Linked DNA regions of Homo sapiens: all the other regions are linked to region 1. Evidence: promoter capture Hi-C in 16 types of primary human blood cells and fetal thymus (Javierre and others, 2016). All regions are on one chromosome and are shown on one strand. The core of a region is centred on a gene start or on the middle of the fragment in contact, and the rest is flanking DNA. Distances in the headings are between cores, read along the strand shown. Region 1 holds the start of OSGIN1 (oxidative stress induced growth inhibitor 1). Region 2 overlaps DNAAF1 (dynein axonemal assembly factor 1). Region 3 overlaps MBTPS1 (membrane bound transcription factor peptidase, site 1). Region 4 overlaps HSDL1 (hydroxysteroid dehydrogenase like 1).

Region 1 (2,831 bases), core at 177-2,676:
ATCCCTCCTTCCCTCCCTCCCTGCCTTCCTCCCTCTTTCCCTTCCTCCCTCTTTCCCTCCCTCTTCCCTTCCTCCTTCCTCCTTCTCTCCCTGCTTTCCTCCCTCCTTCCCTCCCTACTTCCCTCCCTCCCTGCCTTCCTCCCTCCTTCCCCCCCTGCTTCCCTCCCTACCTCCTTCCTTCCCTCCCTCCTTCCCTCCCTGCTTTCCTCCCTCCTTCCCTCCCTACTTCCCTCCCTCCCTGCCTTCCTCCCTCCTTCCCCCCCTGCTTCCCTCCCTCCCTGCCTCCCTTCTGTTTAACCGATGTTGAGTGCCTATGTGTCCTAAGCGCTGTTCTAGACACTGTGTAGAGCAGTCACGAATATACTTCCCTGCCCACACAGAGCTCACATTCTGGTTTGGGAAGAGAGACAATAAAATAATTCAGAAATAGGCCAGGTGTGGCATCTCACGCCTGTAATCCCAGCACTTTGGAAGGCTGAGGCGGGCGGATCATCTGAGGTCGGGAGTTCGAGACCAGCCTTGCCAACATGGTGAAACCCTATCTCTACCAAAAATACAAAATTAGCCGGGCGTGGTGGCACATGCCTGTAATCTCAGCTACTCAGGAGGCTGAGGCAGGGGAATCACTTGAGCCCGGGAGGCGTAGGTTGCAGTGAACCGAGATCGCGCCATTGCACCCCAGCCTGGGAAACAAGAGCGAAACTCCTTCTCAAAATAATAATAATTAAGAAACAGCAAGGTGTGGGGTGTGCAGTGCTACCCACATAAAACAGGAGAGAAGAGCCTGGGAGCAGGCTTCAAGTTCTAAGCATGGCAGACAAGAAGGATGTCATGTAAACCCTCACGGCCACTCTGGTAGAGACAATCTGTGACTTGGCCCCAGTTTTCAGATGAGGAAACTGAGGTGCGGGCCCTAAGGCAGCTTGCCAGAGCCCTGCAGCTGGGAAATGGCAAAGCTGGATTCGCAGCCCAGGCAGGCTGGTGCCAGAGGGCTTTTGGGGATTGGAGGGTGCAGTGAAATCCAGGTGGAATGCGGGAACTGGACGGGGTTTCGCCACTTAAAGGTACTGTTATTTTAACTGTGTGCGGGACAAAGCCATCTCCTCTTCGCTTATGGCAAAGGCCAGGCTGGCTCATTCAGAGGTCACTGGTTCCTCCTCCAGAGACTGAGCCCCAGGGATGGGGGTCTGGCTAGGGGGAGGTGGCTGGGAGGGAGCGCCACCCTAGGCCCCCTGGCAGGCCGCCCAGCAGGGGCCCTTTAAGGCTGGCCATGAGGCAGGCAGCGTGACACCCGCCCAGTGTGCAAGTTCATTCATCACGGGCCCCTGCTGACTCACGCTTATGAAAGTGATTTTCCTGGCCCCGCCCACTGCCTGCGCCGCCTCCTCCCTCCCCGTGAAATACCCTCACTTCCCTCTGGCCTCTCAGAGCCTCTTGGATCCCCACAGGGTAATGGGTGTCCCGATCTCGCGGGGGACTCTGTGATCCGTGTTCCCCTGACCCTCCTAGTGCACAACTTGGCCGGGCTCACTGGGCTCCTGCACCACTGCCTGTCAGGTGAGTGTCCGGGGCCAGGTTCCGGGGCAGGGAATCAGGCACATCCCAGGCACCCGTGGCAAGCCCAGCTGGACCGGAGGGTCTGCAGAGCCCTGGCGCCAGGCGGGGGTCCCGGGTGGTCCTGAGTGGAGGCCCTCGCCTGGGTTCTCTGGAGCCCGGCAGGATTCTCCCCTACACCAGGTTCCTCCCAGATCCTCAGCTGTGTCCCTGTCCAGGTGCCTGGTACCCTCAGCCAAGCAGCTGAAGCGGCCACAGTCCCAGCGTACCCTGGGCCATGTGACCGCCGCTCCTAGCAGGAAAGAGGGGTGTGGCCAGCCCGGGCTTACTGCCCAGCTGTTCCAAGGCCACTGGGTCGGCAGCCAGGCTGGGTGCCTTCTGGGTTTCTGCTTCTCCTGCTCAGGAGGGACAGAGCCCTTGGGTGCCCATGAACAGCCCCCATCCCTGGAGGTCCCAGCGACTTAGCTTCTCTCAGGAGGCTCAAGAGTGCGGCGGGTTGGGAGGGCGGCCCCTGGGAGGCTGGGGAGCTGCAGGAGACCCTGGGCTCCAGGTGTGCGGCACTGGGGCGAGGGCTCGTCTGTGATAAATGGCAAGTGCCGCTTGCGTGGACAGACCACCCCCTCACACTTTAGCGCCCCCAGGGCTTCGTGTCACTTTCTTGGTCTCCCTGTAATCAGCTGTTTTACTGGAGGGGACTTGGCAGAACTAAGATTTGTCACATGGCCGTGGTCTTGGACCCTCCTAGGTGACCTGGGGCAAGACGCCCACTCCTCCTGACCAGCTTTTCTTCCTCTGCACAATGGGGATAAGAACACCCACCTCCTGGGGTGTCTTCAAAGGCAAAGGAGTAAATGGCCACTAGAGGTGCCAAAGAAACGCAGACATACAGGTGTCCCAGAGTCTCAGAGCAGTTTGCAGCTTTAACAACCTCAGAAGTACAAATGCCGCACACTTGAAAGAAACGTCAGTCGAAGGTGCAACTGTTTTCATTTCTTTTATCCTGTTTGCCTTTGTGAAATTTGAAACATCAATTTTTAATGTTAACTTCTTTCCATCAACATCTGCCATCTTCAATTAAAGGGACTTAAAAAGATAACATTAAAAATTGATTCTTCCAACTCCGTAAAACTAAAAAGCACAAAAGGAATTGAAATGAAACTTTTGAACTCTCTTTTGTAAGTTGGCAGCATATTTGTCCGAGGTTATGAGTGACAGCGTCAAGCTGCTTCGGACTTTGGGGCGTCCTGTGTCACTCTGAACGGGAAGTGACTTCTCAG
Region 2 (2,804 bases), core at 258-2,757, 200 kb after region 1:
ACACCTGTAATCCCAGCACTTTGGGAGGCCAAGGCAGGTGGATCACCTGAGGTAAGGAGTTCGAGACCAACCTGGCCAACATGGTAAAACCCCATCTCTACTAAAAATACAAAAATTAGCCAGGTGTGGTGATGGCGGGTACCTGTAATCTCAGCTACTCAGGAGGCTGAGACAGGAGAATCACTTGAACTCAGGAGGTGTAGGTTACAGTGAGCCGAGATTGTGCAATTGCACTCCAGCCTGGGCAACAGAGCCAGACTCCATCTGAAAAAAAAAAAAAAGTGACTTAAGAGACATCCACTAATTACAAGGTTTGGACCTTATTTGTATGTTGATTCAGACAGTAAACAGTTTGGAAACAAAGACAACAAAGAAATGTGACCAGTTACTGGCTGTTTGATGATGACGTTGAGGAACTGTTGTTTAGACGTCACAGTGGTGTTGTGGCTATCTTAAAGAAAAAAAAAATCCTATCTTTTATAGATACTGACTTCAGCATGAAGACCTTGGAGCAATATGGCAAATACTTCCACTATAAAAATTTTTGTGGAGAGGGTTTGCAAGGAGGGAGAGCATCAGGAGGAACAGCTAATGATGCTAGGCTTAATACCTAGGTGATGGGATGACCTATGCAGCAAACCACATGGCACACATTTACCTATGCCACAAACCAGCACATCCAGCACAGGAACCCATCAACTTAAAATAAAACTTGAAGAAATAAAATAACCAAAATTTTTGTGGAAAAAATATAGGATTTTAAAAAGTCTATCTATACAATGCCTGTGTTTAAGTGTATTCTATAACTATGTTAAATATTACTTGTGCTTATAGCAAGCTTGGAAGGCGAGAGAGAAAAATGAAAACGGATTATCTGTTGGCAGGAACATGGGTGCATTTCTTTTTATTTTGCTCACCATTGATATTAGAATTTTTTAATAAAAACTTTTTCAGGCAACAAAATAAAGAACTTTAAAAAGTGTTGGTAATAGTAGGTCAAGGCATGAATTACACATTGATGACGAGTTACTAAAGGAAACTAAAAGATTTGTTTTCCTAACCGTAAATTTGGCTCATAAAACTGAAAAAGAGAACAAAACAAGGCCCACAGTTTGCACTAGGGTCAGGCCTGGTGGGAACATTTTCAAGGCAGGGTTACCCCCACTGCACCCCCACCTCCACCCACTCCCCACCATGAAGGCAGCAGTAGGCTCCACCCTCCCAGGTGGGTAATTCCAGCAGAAAGACTACCAGTCTTTTCAGCAAGACCCCCTAGGATTCATCAAAGTTCGCCTTGCTTGGCTAAGTGTGGCCACCCCCGAATGAGTCACCGTGACTCTGATAGGCTGCCAGAGAGCCGTTGGGTGATATTAGGAAAAGGATGGTTCCTCCAAGAAAAGTTGCTACTGGAGGAAGGAGGTGTGGATGCCAGGTAGGCAGGTGTCTTAGTCCGTTTTGAGCTGCTGTAACAAGAAACCGTAGCCTGGGTGGCTTGTAGACAACAAAAATGTATTTCTCACAGTTCTGGAGGCTAGGAAGTCCAAGGTCAAGCTACTGGCAGATTTGGTGACTGGTGAGAGCTTGCTTTTTTATTCGCAGATGGCACTTTCTTGCTGTATCCTCATGGGGTGAAGATGGCAAAGAAGCTCTCTGGGGCCTCATTTATGAGACCACTAATCCCATTCCTGAGGGTTCTTCTCTCATGACCTTATCACCTCCCAAAAGTCCCACCTCCTAATACCATCACATTAGGGGTTAGGATTTCAATGTATGAATTTTGAAGGGACACAGACATTCAGTTCCTAATAGTAGGCAAAAACAAGGGTGACCGTGACCCCTCTGCCCTGGGAGTAGGAGCTTAATTCCCACGTGCTTCCTTTTTGTTAGGTTTTGATCGCATTGAGAACCTGGAAGAGTACACAGGGCTGCGCTGTCTCTGGCTGCAGAGCAATGGAATACAGAAAATCGAAAACCTGGAGGCCCAAACTGAGTTGCGTTGCCTCTTCTTGCAAATGAACTTGCTCCGTAAAATTGAGAACCTGGAACCTCTGCAGAAACTGGATGCTCTTAACCTCAGCAACAATTACATCAAGACCATTGAAAACCTCTGTAAGGGTACCCAGCAAGCAGTGTGTCTGTTTGCCATATGTCCATCACCTTCCCCTGAGGGATGTTCTAAGCTTTTATATTATGGGCAAGAAGTGGTGTTTTTTTTTGTCTTTTTTTTGTTTTTTTTTGAGACAGAGTCTTGCTCTGTCGCCCAGGCTGGAGTGCAGTGGCGCGATCTCAGCTCACTGCAAGCTCTGCCTCCCGGGTTCATGCCATTCTCCTGCCTTAGCCTCCAAAATAGCTGGGACTACAGGCACCCACCACCACACCTGGCTAATTTTTTGTATTTTTAGTAGAGACGGGGTTTCACCGTGTTAGCCAGGATGGTCTCGATCTCCTGACCTCGTGATCCGCCCGCCTTGGCCTCCCAAAGTGCTGGGATTACAGGCGTGAGCCACCATGCCCAGCCAAGAAGTGTTTTTGGTTTTGTTTTGCTTTGCTTCTTTTTGAGATGGGGTCTTGCTCTGTCACCCAGGCTGAAATGCAGTGGTGCAGTTAGAGCTCACTGCAGCCTTGACCTCCTGGTCTCAAGCGATCCTCCCACGTCAGCCTCCCAGGTGGCTGAGACCACAGGCATGTGCCACCAGACCTGGCAAGTTTTTCTACTTTTTGTGGATATGGGGTCTCACTGTGTTGCCCAGGCTGGTCTCAAACCTCCTGGGCTCGAAAGATTCTCCCGCTTTAGCCTTCCAAAG
Region 3 (3,039 bases), core at 103-2,602, 150 kb after region 1:
TCATTCGAAACCAGATACCCGTGATATTTTTTTAAAAAGCAAATACCTACAGAAGTTTGAATACACAACAAAGAAATGTATATAATTTTTATCAAGTAGGAAAAAGAAATTCAGAGAACTGAATGCTCAGTTAGTGTTTCTTAAAACGAAAACAGTAACAAAATTCCAGAGTGGATTATGTGAGACTATTTGCTCAGTTCTTCACATCTGGTCACTCAAACTTTAGAACATAAACATTCTGCACCTCCCAGCTCCCCACCTTCACCAATTACAATGGCACCTGTTCCAAAGAATCAAGGTGTAGGCTGGGCACAGTGGCTCATGCCTATAATCCCAGCATTCTGGGAGGTCGAAGTGGATGGATTGCTTGAGCTCAGGAGTTTAAGACCAGCCTGGGCAACATGGTGAAACAAAAAATAAAAAAATTAGCTGGGCAGGCCGGGCACAGTGGCTCATGCCTGTAATCCCAACACTTTGGGAGGCCAATGCAGGAGGATCACCTGAGGTCAAGAGTGCAAGACCAGCCTGACCAACATGGAGAAACGCAGTCTCTACTAAAAAGACAAAATTAGCCGGGCATGGTGGCACATGCCTGTAATCCCAGCTACTCGGGAGGCTGAGGCAGGAGAATCGCTTGAACCTGGGAGGTGGAGGTTGCGGTGAGCTGAGATGGTGCCATTGCACTCCAGCCTGGGCAACAAGAGTGAATCTCCATCTCAAAAAAGAAAAAAGAAAAAACAAAAATAAAAAAATTAGCTGGGCACGGTGGCAGGTGCCTGTAGTCCCAGCTACTCAGGAGGCTGAAGTGGGAGACCACTTGTGCCTGGGAGGCCAAGGCTGCAATGAGCTGAGATGGCACCACTGCACTCCAGCCTGGGCGACAAGAGCAAAACTCTGTCTCCAAAAGAAAAAGAAAAGAAGGTGTAGGTAAATAATTCATGTCAATTTCCTTTTATCATATAAGCTTACTCTACTGGGAAAACAAACTTAAGCAAAGTTAACATTCATGTGCTGTGCACTCAACCCATTGGAAATTTACTACAGAAGGCCAGGCACGGTGGCTCATGCCTGTAATCCCAGCACTTTGGGAGGCCAAGGAGGGTGATCACTTGAGGTCAGGAGTTCAAGACCAGCCTGGCTAACATGCTGAAACCCCGTCTCTACTAAAAATACAAAAAAAAAAAAAAAAAAAGGCCTGGCACGATAGTTCATGCCTGTAGTCCCAACACTCTGGGAGGCCAAGGCAGGCGGATCACGAGGTCAGGAGCTCGAGACCAGCCTGGCCAATGTGGTGAAACCCCATCTCTACTAAAAATAGAAAAAATTAACTGGGAGTTGTGGCGGGTGCCTGTAGTCCCAGCTGCTCAGGAGGCTGAGGCAGGAGAACTGCTTGAACCTGGGAGGTGGAAGTTGCAGTGAACCGAGATCGTGCCATTGCACTCCAGCCTCAGCAACAGAGTGAGACTCCATCTCAAAAACAAAACAAAACAAAACAGAACAAATCAAAACAAAAAATTAGCCAGGGACGGTGGCAGTCACCTATAATCCCAGCTACTTGGGAGGCTGAGGCATGAGAATTGCTTGAATCCAGGAGGTGGAGGTTACAGTGAGCCGAGATCATGCCACTGCACTCCAGCCTGGGTGACAGAGTGAGACTCTGTCTCAAAAAAAAAAAAAAGAAAGAAATTTACTGTAGAAAAGAGGAACATGTTATTCAGCAATAGCTAATTTTATATTAAGTAAGCTTTAAAAAAATAGGATGGGAGTTCCTAATACTTAAGACAACATCATTACCATATTCCACAACTGTTGATGAGAATTCCACCTTCAAAGTCAGGTGGGAACAGCCAGGGCATGGGGCCTTTTCAAAAGATTTCTTTTCCAGTCTGTCGCCCAGATGTTTCTTCCCACAGAGCAAAACCACGAGCAGAAGCAGCCAGATGTTGACAAGCTTCATGGTCACAAGCGAATATGATCATAAAATTGCATATATTCAAATCACACTTTTTTCTTCTTGATTAAAAGTGAATTTTTGTTTCAGCTAAAAGCTGCAACATTACTAATCAGCCATCTTACAGTCTTGCCCAACATAAATAAAAGTTAAATCCCATGGCCTTTTGTGGTTCAGCCTGAAGAGAGGCTTTCATTTCTTTCTCCGCTTCTTCTCCATCTTGGAAATAAGGCTTCTCTCACTCAGGCCGTGACGACTGAGTCCTGTACTCCATTTGTACCACAGAACCAACGTCCAATGGGGTTGATCAATCAACCACTGTGAGCCAATCTATGAAACAAAAAACAGTGCACACAGACATTAGTAGCAAACTGACATAGCCAGGTATGATTTAGTTGTATTTATAATTTAAGCAAGTGGGTCAGCCAGGCAAGGTGGCAGGTGCCTGTAGATCAGCTGCTTGGGAGGCTGAGGTGGGAAGATCACTTGAGCCCAGGAGTCTGAGTCCAGCCTGAGCAACAAAGTGAGACCCTATGTCTAAAATAATAAAATAATAAAATAAATAAGAGGGTAAAAGAGATATCCTGGTTTTAAGACAAATTAATGTGCCATACAACCATGAAACATATTATTTCATTTTTATTTACTTATTACTCACTGCTTTCACGGGAAAATTTTTTTTAGGCATCTTCAAAAATAAAACAATAAAATCAATGAGAAAAATGGAAAAAAGTAAGGACAACAAAATAACACCAAAAATATTAAGCACACTGGACCTGAGCATTCTAGCAGCCAAAGAGAAGAAGGCATCAGGATGATCCTTTGTTCTGTTTCAGATTCTGTATTTCCTATCATTTGCAACTCAATCCCCAGAGCATTTCCCCAGTTGGCACTTTTACTTCCCACAAATTTCATCAATTTTTCAGGCAAAAGCTTGGTATAAAGCCTTACTTTCTGCTGTAACATTAATACCTAACAGCAAAGTAATTTCCCTATCAGTGATATTTAACACCTTCTTTAAGAAACACTATGCTTTAATATTACATAGTTTGAAATATTTTCTACCAATTCTATGAAAAGAGCATAAA
Region 4 (2,759 bases), core at 14-2,513, 180 kb after region 1:
TCGCCCACCTTAGTTCAGGTGCCCACCACCTGTCTAATCTCCTGGCAGGGTGGCAGGGAGGAAGGCGTCCTACAGTGTTTGGGGGCAGCCCCCCTAGGCTGTGAGTGGGTCAGATGCTTTAAGGAGGAAATGAAAGGAAACCCCTGGTCCACATTTTCCCTCTCCTCCACCACACACACTGCATTGCAACTGTTCTGTCTCTGACCACCCCAGCAGGCTATAGTCCTCCAGGGCAGAGGCCAGATTCTACTCCTCTCTGTTTCTCCAGCACCTTCCACAATTCCTGGCACAAAGAAGCTCAACACTACCAAGTCTCTGGCTGCAGCTCACAGGCAGTCTTCCTGTCCAGCGCTCAGCCCTCAGCTCAGGAGCGGACCACCCACAAATTCCTTTGATCCTTTACAGAAAGAAAAGCTTGTGTGCTAAACCCACCAGGGACCTCCCACTCAGGCCAGCAGAGGAGATGCACCCACTGCAGAGGTGAGTACAGGAACCTGGGGCTGAGGGGCTTCAAGCCCATCATGGCCCAGCTTCTCAACGCCCCCACTAGACACCCCTCACCTCTTGTCAGGGGAGCGCCATCGTGTGCAAGTACCTTAAACGTGTGTTAATATTATTGTTGCTATGTATATTTTAAAAATCACAGAGCATCAGGGGGGCTGATGGCATTCAAGGTCTGGTCCTCAGCCTTGATGGATAGAAACCCAAGTTCTTCATTCCTTAGAGGCAGCTCAAGACAAAGAAATCTGACTCACATCCACAAAACCCACAGAAGACTGATACATTCAAATGCCAAGTTAGGAATGGATAGTGAACAACACAGCGAAGAGGCCTAAACACACACGGTCACTGGTCCTACAGTCTCTCGAGATCTACATGGAAAACCAAACTTCTAGAACAGCAATGAAAAATACAAAGTGTCAGAGACTGAGGACACCATCATGAATAAACCAGGACTCCGTGCCACCCGGTATACACAGAAGTCAGAGAAAGATAAACGGAGCAACTGCAACATGAGGTGGCAAGGGCGCCACTGGGGTGAAATGGGTCTTGAAGTGTGAGCAGAATTTCTGGGCAGAGAGGAGGGAAGGGACCTCCCTGGCCCGGGCCCATGGAGAAAGGCTCGGCACCGTCAAGGGTCTGGCCTACTCGGGAAACATTAGGAAGTCCCCCGCATGCACAGCACAGGCTGTGCTGTCCTGTGTGACGCCCCATGTGTGCAGGCGCACAGGCGTGAAGGAGACTGGGAGAGGCAGACTGGAGATGCCTTCACGCCAGACTGGAGTGCATGGACCTCCTCCTTGAGCACCAAGGGAGGGAGCTGGTGGGGCTTGTTTAGGAAGGTAACGCAGCAGGGGAGGAGGGGGGCTCCTGAGCCCTGGTTACTCAGCTGGGGATGAAGGAGGGCCACACGGAGAGCCAAGGCTCTGTGGCCTCTGCTGCTCCTCAGCCTTGCCAGACACTTCACACATTCACTCACACCCTGATGGGCCAAAGATGTTAGAGAACTGGAAATTAAAACTCATTCCCTGCTCTCAATCTTCTTCCCCACCCTTCTGTACATGATGGAAAATAACATTTTTCTCATGACAAAAGAAATCAGTACTTTCCCCAGAGCCACCAAATTTCAAAAGCTCATAGCCTCTCACTGAAACTTTCAAAGGAATTTATCACACATTTAAGCCTAGAAGTCCACTTAGGCATATGTAGATAACAAGCCTCGTCAAAGTTACTTTAGGTATCTGACTAGTTACTGTTTTGTGGCTTGATTAGCGAAAGCTATTAACCTGTGCTACGGTCTGAGCGTTCCGCCCCACTCCCTGATTCTTGTCTTGAATCTTAACCCCCCAGGTGATGGTTTAGAAGGGAGGGCCTTTGGGAGGCGATCAGATAATGAGGGCTCCACCACCTTGATCTTGGACCATTCAGCCTCCCAAACTGCGAAAAGTAAGTGTTTGCTGTTTCCAAGCCACCCAGTTCATGGTATTTTGTTATAGCAGCTCAAAACCAACTAAGGCAGCCTGCAACCTAGAGAAACCCATGATGTGGAAAGCAATACTAAAACACAGTAAAATTCTGATTCATGTACAATCTACCTGCAAGAACTTATTCTAAAGCTTTATTTTCTTAAACAGAGAGTAGAATGGTGGTTGCTAGAGGTGGGGTCATGGGTGGGAAGTTTTGGTCAAAGGGGTATAAACTTTCAAATATAAAATGCATACGTCTGGAGAGCTAATGTACAGTACAGTGACCATAGTGAGCAATACCAAATTGTAGGCTTAAAATCTGCTTAGAGGGTAGATCTCAAGTGTTCTCACCATAAAGAAATAAAAAAGTAACTGAGGTGATGAATGTGTTAACTAATTTGGTTGTGGTGATCATTTCACAAAGTATACATATATCAAATCATGTTGTACACCTTAAATTTATATAATTTTATTTGTCAATTATACTTCGATGAAGTTGGAAAAATATAAAATAATTTAAAAAAATTTTTAAGCTTTGTTTTCTCATCTCTGCAGAAAACTAAAACATCTGTGAACAAAACAAAACCACAACTGTCCCCAAACTAGGAAAAGAAGAGCAAGTCCCTATTATCTTTTAAGCATTTTCTACTTCTACAGGGCAGGAGTCATCAAAAACCTACAGGAAACGTTACAACTACAAAAGCGTCACGGGACAATTATGGTCAAAACTGCAAGTAGCAAAGTCACCTCTTCAAAGCACCACTGCTGTGGCCTGTAACATGATCCCACTCC

Evidence for each region. The method cuts DNA at HindIII sites, captures the fragments that hold promoters and counts their contacts. A CHiCAGO score of 5 or more calls a contact.
Region 2: a fragment that was not itself captured here is called in contact with the fragment with the promoter of OSGIN1 in region 1 in 2 of 17 cell types (monocytes and megakaryocytes); the score reaches 6.5 in monocytes.
Region 3: a contact is called between a fragment that was not itself captured here and the fragment with the promoter of OSGIN1 in region 1, in 1 of 17 cell types (M2 macrophages). The highest score is 5.9, in M2 macrophages.
Region 4: a fragment that was not itself captured here is called in contact with the fragment with the promoter of OSGIN1 in region 1 in 1 of 17 cell types (neutrophils); the score reaches 5.3 in neutrophils.

What each region holds. Positions count from the first base shown.
Region 1 is chr16:83,951,814-83,954,644 of GRCh38, forward strand. It overlaps OSGIN1 (oxidative stress induced growth inhibitor 1), which reads left to right and starts at 1,427. Exons shown (of 6, transcript NM_182981.3): 1 at 1,427-1,557. RefSeq lists a silencer at 1,702-1,751 and an enhancer at 2,240-2,831. The HindIII fragment of the contact is 5,629 bases long and covers 1-2,831 here.
Region 2 is chr16:84,152,690-84,155,493 of GRCh38, forward strand. DNAAF1 (dynein axonemal assembly factor 1) reads left to right here. Exons shown (of 12, transcript NM_178452.6): 4 at 1,888-2,109. Among named protein-coding and RNA genes, the nearest start is that of DNAAF1, 8.8 kb to the left of the region's middle. The HindIII fragment of the contact is 1,342 bases long and covers 837-2,178 here.
Region 3 is chr16:84,099,827-84,102,865 of GRCh38, forward strand. MBTPS1 (membrane bound transcription factor peptidase, site 1) reads right to left here. Exons shown (of 23, transcript NM_003791.4): 2 at 1,795-2,281. The coding sequence starts at 1,957. Among named protein-coding and RNA genes, the nearest start is that of MBTPS1, 16 kb to the right of the region's middle. The HindIII fragment of the contact is 780 bases long and covers 963-1,742 here.
Region 4 is chr16:84,136,156-84,138,914 of GRCh38, forward strand. All of the region lies in intron 1 of HSDL1 (hydroxysteroid dehydrogenase like 1), which reads right to left. Among named protein-coding and RNA genes, the nearest start is that of HSDL1, 7.6 kb to the right of the region's middle. RefSeq lists an enhancer at 1,183-1,778. The HindIII fragment of the contact is 1,703 bases long and covers 413-2,115 here.